Linked DNA regions of Homo sapiens: region 2 is linked to region 1. Evidence: promoter capture Hi-C in human tissues and cell types (Jung and others, 2019). All regions are on one chromosome and are shown on one strand. Each heading gives the region's core, a stretch centred on a gene start or on the middle of the fragment in contact. The rest is flanking DNA. Distances are from core to core; before and after follow the strand shown.

Evidence for each region. Contacts are between HindIII fragments. The study calls those that stand out against the background at their distance.
Region 2: a contact is called between a fragment that was not itself captured here and the fragment with the promoter of LZTS1 in region 1, in 4 of the 25 tissues and cell types used here (H1 embryonic stem cells, IMR-90 fibroblasts, aorta and 1 more).

The regions. Positions count from the first base shown.
Region 1 is chr8:20,300,775-20,307,548 of GRCh38, forward strand. LZTS1 (leucine zipper tumor suppressor 1) reads right to left here and starts at 3,189. Exons shown (of 4, transcript NM_021020.5): 1 at 2,966-3,189. RefSeq lists a silencer at 3,179-3,248. The HindIII fragment of the contact is 20,395 bases long and covers 1-4,563 here.
Region 2 is chr8:20,371,358-20,378,131 of GRCh38, forward strand. No RefSeq gene overlaps it. Among named protein-coding and RNA genes, the nearest start is that of LZTS1, 71 kb to the left of the region's middle. The HindIII fragment of the contact is 5,824 bases long and covers 1-5,720 here.

The DNA.
Region 1 (6,774 bases), core at 1,939-4,438:
TGAGGAAAAAACAGAGGAAACTTTCTTGGAGGAGTTGATCCCTATGGTTAAAACCCACAGTGGGGCTGGGTGTGGTGGCTCCTGCCTGTAATCCCAACACTTTGGGAGGCTGAGGCCAGCAGATCACTTGAGGTCAGGAGTTCAAGACCAGCCTGACCAGCATGACAAAACCCCATCTCTACTAAAAATATAAAAGATTAGCCAGGCGTGGTGGCAGGCGCCTATAGTCCCAGCTACTTGTGAGGGTGAGGCAGGAGAACTGCTTGAACCCAGGAGGTGGAGGTTGCGGTGAGCCAAGATCGCACCACTGCACTCCAGCCTGGGCGACAGAGCAAGACTCCGTCTCAAAAAAAAAAAAAAAAAAAAAAAAAGTGGGAGCCAGTTAAGTGGAGAAGGTAGAGAGACCAGGCAGGAATATTCCATGCAGAAGAAACAGTGTTTCTATGTTCAAAGGTAGCAGAATAACATGGACAGAGCCAGGGTCCAGAACCTTACTAAGCTGATCTCAAATCCCTGCCCCTCGGTTTTGTAGCCTGGCTAAATTACTTAACTCTCCTCATCTAATAATTATACATACCCCGCAGGGCTGCAGTGAAAATTAAATGAGATAATGAATAAAAAGTTCCAGGCACACAGTGGATTTAGTGGCTGGCATTAAGTGTTACGGTATTATCCATTACACTGGTCTATAAGGTGCTTACCCATAGGTCTGTCATCATTACATTATTCATCTTCCTAGCCTCGCTGCACAGCTCAGAGCCTTGCATTTGGTAGGCGCCCAATGAATATTTATGAAATGAACGTTGAATAAGCGCAAAGGCATATAAATAAGTTTTCAGGATTAGAAAGCCATTTATATACGTCTGGAGCCCATGTATAGCTTTGCTATACACGCTGACCCACGGCTTCTCAAAACTGAAAGGCACATCTTTCCCTCACACACTCCCAAAGCATTGGCTTTCCCCAGGGCACCCCACGCAGCAGCACTCCTTCTATGACAGCACCCCTGCCCCACATCGACCCAGGCACACACAGCTGGGGGCACCTCCTGCAGATACACAAATGCACAAGCTGAACTGCTGAGACAGGTTTACCTCGTGAAGCACACAGCCGCTGCTATAAATGTTAACTAACAACCATCTTCAGCACATCAAATGTCCCGCCCTCCCTTTTGCTTGCATATAGACACCCACAGAGATGCCCGTTCTTTTTCTACTAGTTTTCTTCTCTTCTTAAGCAGAGTGAGCGCCCCACACTCACATCCACCCAGCTGAGACCTCTTACTAGGACTCCCAGTTGCTCCATCCTATTAGCTGTGGGACCTTAGGGAAAGCCTTTCCCTTCTGACGCCTCCGTTTCTTCACTGGCAGGCACAGAGAGCCCACCGCACCAACCTGGTAGTTATGTTGTGAGGATAAAGGAGATAACGTATGAGATAACGTCTATGATGAGCAGAAAGAGCCTCCAAAGAAAAGCGCTGGATAAATACAAGGTGTAACGCCACGCCTGATTAGCCTGCATGCTCTCTGCCCACAGACTTCTACCCACAGACTATGTTCCACTCCACTCTTAAACACAAACACCTTTCCCGTCTGTACATGCTATCTCTAATACCCATATGCGCACACTCTTCGGGCACCTCCATTCTCCCTCTGGATGCCTGCAGAAAATTGTTTTTGAACTTAGAGAAAGCTCAGGTTGCAAACACCCTCTTGCCGGTACCCGCAGACTCTTCTCAGGGTCTTGGTGCAGGAACTGCCAAGCAGATAGCTCATCTCTTTGTGGCTGGGCTCCTGGGCTCCCAGCATTCCTATTAGGCTGCACTTCCAGCAGAGTGTGGGATCCTTATTAGGAGCAGCGCCTGCCCGGCATGGTCCAGAACTCAGTGCCTCCTCAGTACTTTCCCAGCGCCCGGGACCAGAGAGTAGAGGGGCTGATGGCAGCGGGACGGTGTGGAGGGAATAAGTGAGACAGGAAACACTTTAGGAGGCCAGATCCCTAAGCACTTCTTATTCCTGGGAAATTGAAGACTGCGAAGCTAACAAGTCTGGAGCACTTTCCCAGGCCTGACATACTCGTGGGCGAGCACAAGGCTCATTTGCTCCACAGTTCAAACCTTTCCACTTGGAGCACGAAAAAGAGACATCACCTGGCCCTTGGTGTCTCGGGGATGCCTGTTGCTGCCAAGCTGCGACCTCTGAAGCCCCTCCAGCCAGAGCAAAGCCTGTGGCAGGGTGGAGGGGTGAGGTCTGGCTGCCTAGGGTGGCGGTGGAAGAAGTGAAGGTAGTGTGGGGCTGTCTGTGTGTGCATGGTGCTTTGACTAAATTCCTGAATTGCACATCCAGGACCGACCCCAGGAAGCTGCAGCCCCAGGGAGCCACTTAGACACTTCGATTTACCACCTTCCTCTCTAACCACCTCCGCCCGTGTGACTTATTCCTTGAGGGAAACCTTTCAAATCTCTGGCTGCAACGCACCGGTGTCCTCCCCACCGGTGTGGACACAGCTCATCTGCAAAGTTCCAGGCGGCGAAGTTCAGCGGCCCGGACCGACCGCCGGACCCTCTTCCTGCGGCCCCTGCTCCTGCGGCCTCGCGTCCCCACCTCCCACTTCTTCACCTCCGACACCAGTGTCACCTAACACTGACGTCCCCGCCAGGATCAGCATCGGTGCTGGGAATAGACGAACCCCGTCTGCAGGAGACACGAAGACAAAGACAGGAGGACAGACGCACAGTCACCTCCTCTGGGCCGGGCCGGAGAAGCGGCGCCCACCCTGCAGAGGGGAGACCCTGACAGCTCCACGCGGAGACAAAGACACCTCGACAGCCACGGACACAGACAGACAAAGACCGACGGACGCGCGGACGCACGGACGGTCCGGCCCGGCGAGGGGAAAGCGGTTTCCCGCAGCCAGGGCAGCAGACCCTCCAGGGGCGAGGAGATCCCCGGCCACCGCACCTTACCTGCCCCCTGCGCCTCGGGCGCACTTGAGACTTTTTTTTTTTCCCAGTGTTTCCCGGTGTGTTCCCGTCTCTCTTTTTCCAGAGCTGCTGAGCGGGCCGGGCCGGTCCCACTGCGCGGGATGCAGCTCCCGGCTCCCACTCACTGGCCGAGGCGGGCAGAGAAACTTTCGGCCTCCCCGCCCGGCCGCTGCCAACCCGCCAGCTCCAGGCGCGCCGGCCTCTGCGCGGGTCCCGGAGCCGGGGCGGGGCGGGGCGGGGCGGGGCGGGGCGGGGCCGGCCCGGGGCGGGGCCAGAGCCGGCGCCGCTGATTGGCAGCGAGCTGCCGGCAGCCTGGTCTGTGCCGCTCGGCGGCCTTTGTTCCGGGCTGACAGCTGGGGCTGCTCGCGACCTCGCGGCTCCTTCGCGCCCGCGGCCTGCGCGGGGTCCCGGGTCCCGTCTCTCTGCTCTCACTTCCATCAGCCCCATTGGGCGACCCTGCCCCCTCAGTCTTCCTTTCTTGCCTGGCCCCCTTTCTCCGATTGTTCCTGTCTTGCTCTTGTCGCATCCTTTTTTCCCTTTCATTACCTGAAATTCTTACTCCAGTTTTGTTTAAAATCCATTCCTTCTCCCGTTCTGTGTATGTTCCCCTTTCTTCATTACCCCTTCCTCTTAATCGCCAGTTTATTTTTCTTAATACCGTCTCTCCCGCTCCCGACTCGCACTAAAGGGCGTGTGTTTTGTTCAAGGACTGGACTAGCACCCAAGTGAGGGGCATTGCGAACCACACCAGGATTACAGGCTAGAGTCCAGAGCACCGGGACTCCCACTCCCAAAACATGTCAAAAGCAAACTTTTCCAGCTCTGAGGGAGCTGAGTTTCAGGTGACAGCAGAGGCCTGTTTCAAGTTTATAGCTATTAGTCTCACCCAGTCCCCTTATAATACTATCATTTTCTCAACCACCCTCACTTTTAACTTCTAGCAACTGAGCCAGGAGAGGATTCAAGCTTACAAGGTTTTGTAGGACAAAGGGTCAGTTAACCGGAGTGCTAGGTGCAGCATGAGGCTTGGGGGCTTGAGGGTGCACTGAGGCTAATCCTCTAAAACCAGGCTTGGCGGGAAGATGGCAGCTCTGCCCAAGGAGTGTTAGCCTCATCTTGAAAGAAGCCTGTGTGTGTGTGTGTGTGTGTGTGTGTGTGTGTGTGTGTGTGTTGGGGGGTGGGGGATAGATGTAATGGATTAGGATTGACATAGCCGATCTGATTATAAATAGCATGGGGGCCGGACGCGGTGGCTCATGCCTGTAATCTCAGCACTTTGGGAGGCCGAGGTTGGTGGATCACTTGAGGTCAGGAGTTGAAGACCAGCCTGGCCAACATGGTGAAACCCCGTCTCTACTAAAAAAAAAAAAAAAAAAAAATACAAAAATTAGCTGGGTGTGGTGGCAGGAGCCTGTAATCCCAGCTACTTGGGAGGCTGAGGCTTGGGAATTGCTTGAGCCTGGAAGGCAGAGGTTGCAGTGAGCCAAGATAGTGCCACTGCACTCCAGCCTGGGTGACAGAGTGACACCGTGTCTCAAAATAAATAAATAAATAAATAAATACAAAAAAATTAAATAGAATTGTGGTGGCAGGGGGGACAGCTCAAAGGAAAACAAGCCATATGGTTTCTGCCACACCCCTGCTCAAAACCCTGTAGGGGAATCTCACTGCCTTCGGTTGTTGACCCTGAAGACTCTGACCTTCGAATCTAGGCTTCCTGAAAGATGGCACCGCGAGGGTTTAAGAACACAGACAGGCTTCGCTGCTTGTTATTTGAGCCATTACCTTCCCCTCCCTCTTTCTCAGTTTTTCTTTTTCTTTCTTTCTTTTTTTATTTGTGAAATGAGGTAACAAGTCCCAGTGTAAATTCCCTGAAGGCAGGAACTTGTTCTCTTTTATTGGTGGCTGAGGGACTTGGTCTGTTTTATTCATAGATGTATCCCCGACACCTAGAACTTGCCAGGCAACATAGTAGGCACTCAATATGTATTTGTTAAATGAATGAATTTCTCATGTATAGGTTTGTTCTGATGATTAAATGAAACCCACTGCCTTGCGGTAAGTACATACACGTGGCAGTAATTACAAGCAATACGACAATTTCTAAGTGTCAACCCCAAAGGCTACTCAGCCTTTTCCTGAACATCACCTCCTTTTCCCCACCTTTGTATAAACCTGCCCCTCAGTCTGAAAAGCTTTTCTCCTGCTCTTCTAACTCTACCTCTCAAAATCTGAGACAAAATATGGAACCCTTACTCACACCTTCTCTTATCGTCCAGGGCAAAATAATGTCTTCTTTTTCTAAAGCGCCATGCTTCTTTGTGTTGCATTTATTGACAGAGAACATGTATTCTTGCTTGCTGGTGAGAGTATCTCAAGAATTTTAGCTGAATGAGTTAATATCGATCAAACATTCCAGCGCTTTAAGGAAAGAGCAGACTCCTGGAAGGTAGATTAAGGTATGAGGTGGGCTCCAGACTTCAAACTCATTTTCACATCGTCGGAGGTGAGATTCCATGGAAGAGACAAAGGACTCTGGAAGCCCACTTTTTGTTCTGGCCCTACTGCTGACTATATGCTCTTGGACAAGCCATGTCCCTAATGAGGCCTCAGTTTCCTCATCTGGAAAGTGGATGGTTTGGAGTCCCTGATGAGACCTCAGTTTCCTATCTGGAAAGTGGATGGTTTGGAGTCCCTGATGAGGCCTCAGTTTCCTCATCTGGAAAGTGGATGGTTTGGATGAGAAGATACTCCTTAAGGACCCTCCTTCAGCACTGACACCTTTGTCAGTGACATTCTAGGTGAAAGCTGGGTATGATGTGCAGCCTTCCTGGAATGACTGAGTCAGGCAAAGGGTATGAGCAGTGTGTTGGTTTGTGTATGAGCGGTGGAAATGGGATACCCTATGGAACAACAGAAACACCCTGTGGAAGGGATACTTTAGAGACAGAATGCATAGAGAGTGGGGCTGGAAATGAGAAGGCAGAGTGGAGAAGGAGACCAGTGATGGACAGCACAGCATGTGTGTATGTATTATGGTTCCGTATGTGTGCATGAAAGCCTCAGGAATGTGGTCTCCAGCAGCACAAAGCCATAATTAGCTCCCTGATTCAGCAGTTGGGTATGGTAATGCAATGGCTGGGTGTGTCTACCCCCAACACCACCGGTAGGTTCTCAGTGTGGCTCCTTTTCTTCCTTGTCTAGTGAAGGGGCGCTGCCCTTCCTTAGTGTCTGGGTTCCCGAGAGGTGTCTTATGTGAAACTCTGCATCCCTCAGGCTCTCCCTTGCCTGAGTCGAGTCTAGAAAGCTGGGTCACAAAACATTTCTTGTAAAAATCTCCTACCCTCCTCCTGTATTCATCACCTGAGATACAGAGCATCATGCTTCATCTCTAGGACCTAAGATTGGCCACACTGGACCAGACCCATAGACCAGTTAAGCCAGCAGCTTGTTTGGATTACAGACAACTCTGCCTTCCTCAAGGTACTGTCACCTATCACAATTTAATTAATTCCCTGGCTTCTTGTTTGTCTGTTCATCTCTTCTGCAAGTTTCTTGTTCAAAGATCATGTCTGTCTTAGTCAACATTGAATCCACAGAACTCAGCACATTATTGGTACAAAGCAAGCGCTCAAAAAATACTAGAATGAGTGCTATGAGGGGAGGGAGGCGAGATGATGTTTCAGAGAGATAAATTGACTCAAATTCAGAAAATCCACGTGTATTCCTACTTCTTCCAATCTGCAGTCTTCTCACAACCCTTTGGAGGTTTAGTTTGCTATCAGTGAAAG
Region 2 (6,774 bases), core at 1,559-4,058, 70 kb after region 1:
CTTGAGACCCATCAGGCACATGGGACCCAGTGTGGCCCAGGTGTCCCAGGCCAGTCCCCAAAACGCAGCAGTAGTGCCTCTGTTCTGTCTCTGGCTTTCTTGCCTTACAGTGTGATCCAGTGGTCTCATCTCCCTTCTCTGAGTCTGATTTTCTGCCCCACAGGCACTCACCATCCATAGTCAAAAGAGTTAAAATATATATATATATATATATACACATATACATATTTTTGAGATAGGGTCTCATTCTGTAGTCAACCAGGCTGGAATGCAGTGGTGTGGTCATAGCTCACTGCAGCCGCAACCTGCCAGGCTCAAGTGATCCTCCCACCTCAGTCTTCCGAGTAGTTGGGACTACAGGCTTGCACTACCATGCCCAGCTAATTTTTCTATTTTTGTAGAGATGGAGTCTCACTATGTTGCCAGGGCTGGTCTCAAGATTCTGGCCTCAAGTGATCCTCTTGCCTCAGCCTCCCAAAATAGTGGGATTACAGGCGTGAGCCACTACTCCTGGTCAAGTTAAGACATTCTTGTCAACAACTCTGATTATTTACTTTTATTTTGGTGCATCCAAGAAAAACTGGCAGAGTGGGCCTTCCTCTACACCCTTGATATTGCTAAGCACTATGTGAGTTTCTTTCAGATCCTTCTTAGTTTTCTCTTTTGTTGAGGGAAAAGAAAGAATAAAGTCAACTTCACAAAACAAATTCTGTGCCAAATGGCTCAGGAAGCAAAAGTCTAAAAGTCGAGTATATTAAAGCTTTGAACTCATTCACTAATTCAATTGTTCACTTCATTAATCCTGATGCTAATATGCACATATTCAATTACGCACACACACATACACACAACACACAAATATACCTATGCACGTATGATAATCTTTTCTTTGTACCAACCATCCCCAAAGCTCGGTAGCTTAAAACAACAACTATTTTATTTTCTCACAAGTCTGCAGTTCCACACTCTGAGCAGGGCTCAGCTTTGGACAAAGATCCCTGCAGGAAATAGAAGGTGAGCAGATGGTGCCATGGGGGATACTTTCTCCAGAGGTCACTAACATGGGTGTATTCCTGGCGTGGCTCAGCTGGGCCCCTTGGTCTAAGGTGGCCTCATGGATGCATCTGGTGCTTGGTGTTGACTGTTTTCCCTGCCTCTCCCCCTCAAGATCTCCCATCCTCAAGAAGGCCAGCCCAGGCTTCATCACACAGCAGTGGAAGAGTTCTGATTTAAGAGAAGAAGAGTGGAAGCTGCAGGTCCTGTTGAGACCTGGACTAGGAAGACACACAATGCCACTTCTGCCACATTCTAGTTGTCATTTCTGGTTGTGAAAGCAAGTCCCAGGGCCAGTCAAGATTCAAGGAAAGGGTAAATAAACTCCATTACTTGATGGGTGCAGCCAAAAAAAGTCATGTTCAAAGGCATGCCCACAGGGGCAGGAGGGATTGTTCTCGTGCTCCTTGTCTCTCTATTTCTTTGTCTATAACTTATATCTACATATAGTCTATACCTATATATTTATAGATCTGGACATGTATATATAGATATAGATAGGTGGATAGATAGATCTTTTTTTTTTTTTTTTTTTTTTTTTTTTTGTGACAGGGTCTCACTCCATTGCCCAGGCTGAAGCGCAGTGGTGCAATCATAGCTCACTGCAACTTCGACCTTCTGGATTCAAGTGATCCTCCCACCTCAGCCTCCCAAGTAGCTAGGACCACAGGCACAGGCCACCACGCCCTAATTGTTTTATTTAACCCTTAAAACCAAGCATCACCTTGGATGTGAGAAAAAATTGTAGTCGAGGGCGTTCGGGAACTTATTCAAGGTCACACAGCATTCTAGATTCAGATGTAGACCTGGCCTTCAGCTCCCCCTTCCCACCTTCAAGTCCAGCCTTCAAGTCTAGCCTCTTTCCACTTTCCCATCATCCACAGGGAGGAGTTGGCTCAGCCAAGTGAGCTTTTCTAGGATAGCTTCATGAAACAGCTGCCATTTGAGCGGGTTCTATTCTGGGCATGTTTACAGGACGCTAGGGGGCCAATGGGCTTGTTCTTCCCGCCCTCTGTCCAGTGGCAGTGACAGCAATCTGAGTCCTCTCCCAAGGACAGGTGGCAGCAACATGCCTGTGCTGGTGAACACTGGAATGAGAGCAGTGGGGATGTAGGAGGAGGAGATGAAAGAGGAAGAGGAAAAGGAGGATGAGAAGGAAGAGGAAGAGGAGGAGGGGAAGTGGGGAAGGAGGAGGGGGAAGAGGAGGAGGAGGAGAAGAAGGAAGGGAAGGAAGGGGAGGAGAAGGAAGAAAAGGAGAAGGAGGAGGAGGAGGAAATGGTGGAGGGGAAAGAGGAGGAGGGGAAAGAAGAGGAGGAGGAAGAAGAGGAGGAGGAAGAAGAGGAGGAGAGAAAGGAGGAGGAAGAAAAGGAGGAGGAGGGAAAGGAGGAGAAGGGAAAGGAGGAGGAGGGAAAGGAGGAGGAAGAGGAGGAGATGGAAAAGGAGCAGGAGGAGGAGGAAGAGAAGGAGGAGGAGGAGGGGGAAAAAGAGGAGGAGAGAAAGGAGGAGGAGGAGGAGGAGTCGGCGGCAGGAGGAGCCTTCCTAACACCTGGAGGGAATAGTGAGAGGGTTTGGCAGCAGCGAGTAAAGAGGCCATTGTGGACAGGCCAAATTGGATGAAACTGAAGGAGGTTTTTCTCCCCCAGATTTTTACCTTAGAGATTTGCTTGCCTTGGCGTGTTCTATCCTGGGGCCCTCATGCGTTCGTTTGACCTCGCTTTCACATTTTACCTATAGACTTTATAGTGCTTTTACATCTATCTTATTATCATTTTTCATAAGATCCCTAAGACAAAGCTGGTGTGGGGACTGTCATTCCTATTTCACTCATGAGGAAACTAAGGTGCCACATCAGGAAACAGTGAAGAGGGAGGGAGGGGAAAGTATTTAATGACCACCTAATATGTACCTGGCCTCTGTCAGGTGTTTTCTAGCAGTGACTCACTCATTCTTCTCCATAACGCCACTGCAATGATTAGAAAACAGAGGCACAGAGAAGGGCAGGCCTCCTCAAACTAAGCGTACTCCTTTCAAAACCTGGGTAAAATGCAGCACTACAGACACCCAGGGTTTGTCTTTGGCCTCTGGAGGCCCCACCCTGGGCCTCAAGTTTCAGGCGGCCCCTCACTAACCCCACAGGGCTGGGGCAGTAACGAGGGCAGAGTGCTCTGAGCTGTCTGGGTTGGAGTTGCACCTGCTGTTCCACCAACCTCCTCCCGGCTCCTCTATTGAAAGGACTCCAGCCATTGTTCCTGCCTCCTTCTCCCTGCTCTCTTCCAGAGCAGCCAGCCCCAGCTCCCACAATCCCCTTTGGCCACTGGGGGCATGGACACCTCTAGCTGAAAGGTTCAGGCCTGGGGCCTTCCTCCAGACACAGCTGGGAGGCTCTCCTCCTCCCTCCTCAGGGCTGGGACCTCCAGGTACTTCTTGTAAAGGCCACAGGCTCTCTCAAGGATTTGCCCCAGGGTCTGGGGTCTCCGAATCCCAGAGTTCTAGATGATTTAGACCCCCAGACACTTCACCTTTCTGTGGCTTAGTCTTCCTCTTTGCATGAAAGACCGAAGAACCTCACCCCCCACCCTAAAACTTATCAAAGAAACGAGAGAGAATGAAGTTAAACATGGAAAAATACCACTCATTCCACAAGCTTTTACTAAGCACCTAGAAGCTGCCTAACATGTGCCAGCAGTAGAAAAATACAGGAAAGTTCAAGGGGTTCACAACATGCTAAGCAGATCAAATATCTGCACAGATAATAAGAATATAGTAATGAAGAAAGTCTTTCAATGTCTCACTTCTTTCCCTTTTTGACCCACAGTGGCCAGACTTCATTCATCTGTTCATTTATTCATTGATCCATTCATTTGTCCATCCACCATCCATCCATCCATCCATCCATCCATCCATCCATCCATCCATTCATCCATCCACCCACCCTTCCTTTCTTCCTTCCATCCATTTGGTCAACCAGTCATTATTGGAGTACAAGATATTAAACACTGGAGAAGCAAAGAGGATACAACACAGAACCTGCCCTGGGAAGGAGGGAGGTGATGATACAGTCAAGGCAGCAAAATGCAGTACAATATCAAGCTATGGCTTAAGGGAGAACTGAGGCTATAGAATAATGCTCACTATACTCAGTCGTTGTAATGTCTGTGTGCCTCTGCCCCATTTACCTGAGGTCATACAGTCTCCCTATCCCTACAGCTCAGCATAGTGGCTGGCGCCAAATTAGAGCTCAATCAATGTTGAATGAAAGCACTAGTGAAATAAAGCAAAGAGTGTTGTAATTTCCTAAGTCTACTTCCTCATGTGAGAAAATGGGTGCTAATTATAGCCTGGTAGAGATGGAATAAGTTCAGTTCCATATGTGCTTAATGAGATACAGTGCCTGAATCAACAGATATTACATATTCCCTTTTTGCTTCCTTCCTTAGCTTGGGCATGTCTCTTTCCCATTTTGGACCAGTTTTTTTTTGTTTGTTTTTGCTTTTGTTTTGTTTTTACAACTGAACAATGAAGGGCTTAGCTAAAATCCTAACCATTTGGATTCCAAATACGAGATTTTAGTCTAGTGCTAGTTGTTCCTGAGAAGAGACTCATGTGCATTTCATAGATATTATGCAGCACTCACTGCATATTAATTATCAATTAAATATGAATCATCTGTGGGATGCTTCAGGCTCCTCAGGGATCATACTTTAGTTGCTTAGACAAATACAATAGGGAATTTTTCTAACGGTGAATGCAGTACCAACAGCAGAAGTTATTATTATACATATTTTTTCCCAAATATAGGCCACTGTTTTTATTGATTTTGGGATGGCTTTTTAACTATTACCTCAGATGTAACTCCAAGAAGCAAAGATGCTTAAATGAGATTTTGATGTTAACAAATATGCAGAGGGAATGCTGCCTTTGGTGGTGCAAATGGCATTTGGGGGCCCCCTGCTGTTAGGCATAAGAGGTTTGTACAAGAAAACCCTGGTCTTTGGTCTGCATTGCCCCCTGGTGGTGAGACTGATTTTTGACAGCGAGGGAGGGCTACTCCTGGGCCGAGCCACAGAGTCATCCAGCAAAGCTGTTAAGAACGAGGATATGTGGACCGAAAATAAAATTCTAAGCCTCCGCAACCGATGGAATGGACTCTCCTCTCAGCCAAGGGGACCCCAATAAACCTGAAAAACTAGTTCAGGCCATGATGGGACCAGGAGGCTTGGCGGTCAGACATGCTTCATTATATCCTCTCCCTTTTGGAGTTTAGACACAACTGACCAGCATTAATTTTAAAACAGAGATCCTACAACTGATGGAACAGACTCTTTGTAGCAACAAGATCCCAAATTCCAACCTGACTCTAGTATAACATCATATGACAGATAACAAGGCCGAAGAAACAAAGTATTTATTCCAAAGTGAAAGAAACCAAAGTATTTATTCCAAAATATATTTATTTGACATAATTTGAAATGGCCCTGCAAAGCTGTCTCTTGTGGGGAAAATTTACATTATAAAGCAAATTCCCTTACTTTCCAGGTCTTTTTCTGATTCTGAAGAGATTGACTGAGAGTTTAGCACATTTTAAAGTTCTGAAAAGGAAATATTTGCCACCTATTGCCTCTAGGGATGCCACTTATGAGAATTCATCTACATAATAGGAACCTTGGTCTCCACAACCTCTTACCTTAACGCAGACACTTCTTTCAATTGGCTCAAGGTCTTTAGACAATAACTTAACTCTTTCAACCAGTTGCAATCAGAAAATCTTTGAATCCACCTATGGCCTGTAAGTTCCCCAATCCTTTCAGTTGTCTTGTCTTTCCTGACAGAACAAGTGTATTGATTGATGTCTTATGTCTCCTGAGGACATATAAAACCAAGCTGTAGCCTAACTGCCTTGGGGACATGTTCTCAGGACTTCCTGAGGCTGTGTCACTGGTCATGATTCATAGTCATGGCAAAATAAACTTTTAAATTGTTTGAGACCTATTTCAGATACTTTTTTGGTTTACAGATATATCAGTTTGGGTAAATTTACTGAGTATTTGTTATGCAGTCAAAGACACTGTGGAGGTCAGACAAGAAGAGTAAAGGGCTGGGTGCAGTGGCTCACACCTGTAATCTCAGCATTTTGGGAGGCCAAGGTAGGAGAATCACTTGAGGCCAGGAGTTCAAGACTAGCCTGGTTAACAAAGTAAGACAAGCCCCCCTCATCTCTACAAAAAAAATAAAAACAAATAGACAGGCATGGTGGTGCATGCCTGTAGTCCCTAGCTACTTGGGAGGCTGAGGTGGGAGGATTGCTTGAGCCCAGGAGTGTGAGGCTGCAGTGAACTATGATTGTACCACTGCACTCCAGCTTAGGCAACAGAGCAAGACCTTGTCTCTTAAAAAAAGGAACAAATTCTAACCCCAGGGAATTTTTTTCTGGCTTTTGACCTTTCCCAGGGGAATATCACTGTCTTCTGGACTTTTCCTTCATCGTTCACTCAGTCATTCATTTTTTGGCAAACATTTATTGAGCAACTTCTATGTTCCAGGCACATTAATGGGTGTTGAGGTTATAAGAGTAGATTAAAACCAAACAACAAACCTTATCCTTAGGGATTTTTACATGTTCGAATACCTACCTTCAGGCTGGCATTCTCATAGTCCTGTAAAACTTTACTTATCACTGGGGCTGAGGAATCCCGTGCCAAGCCATTGCATGGCTATGGCTTA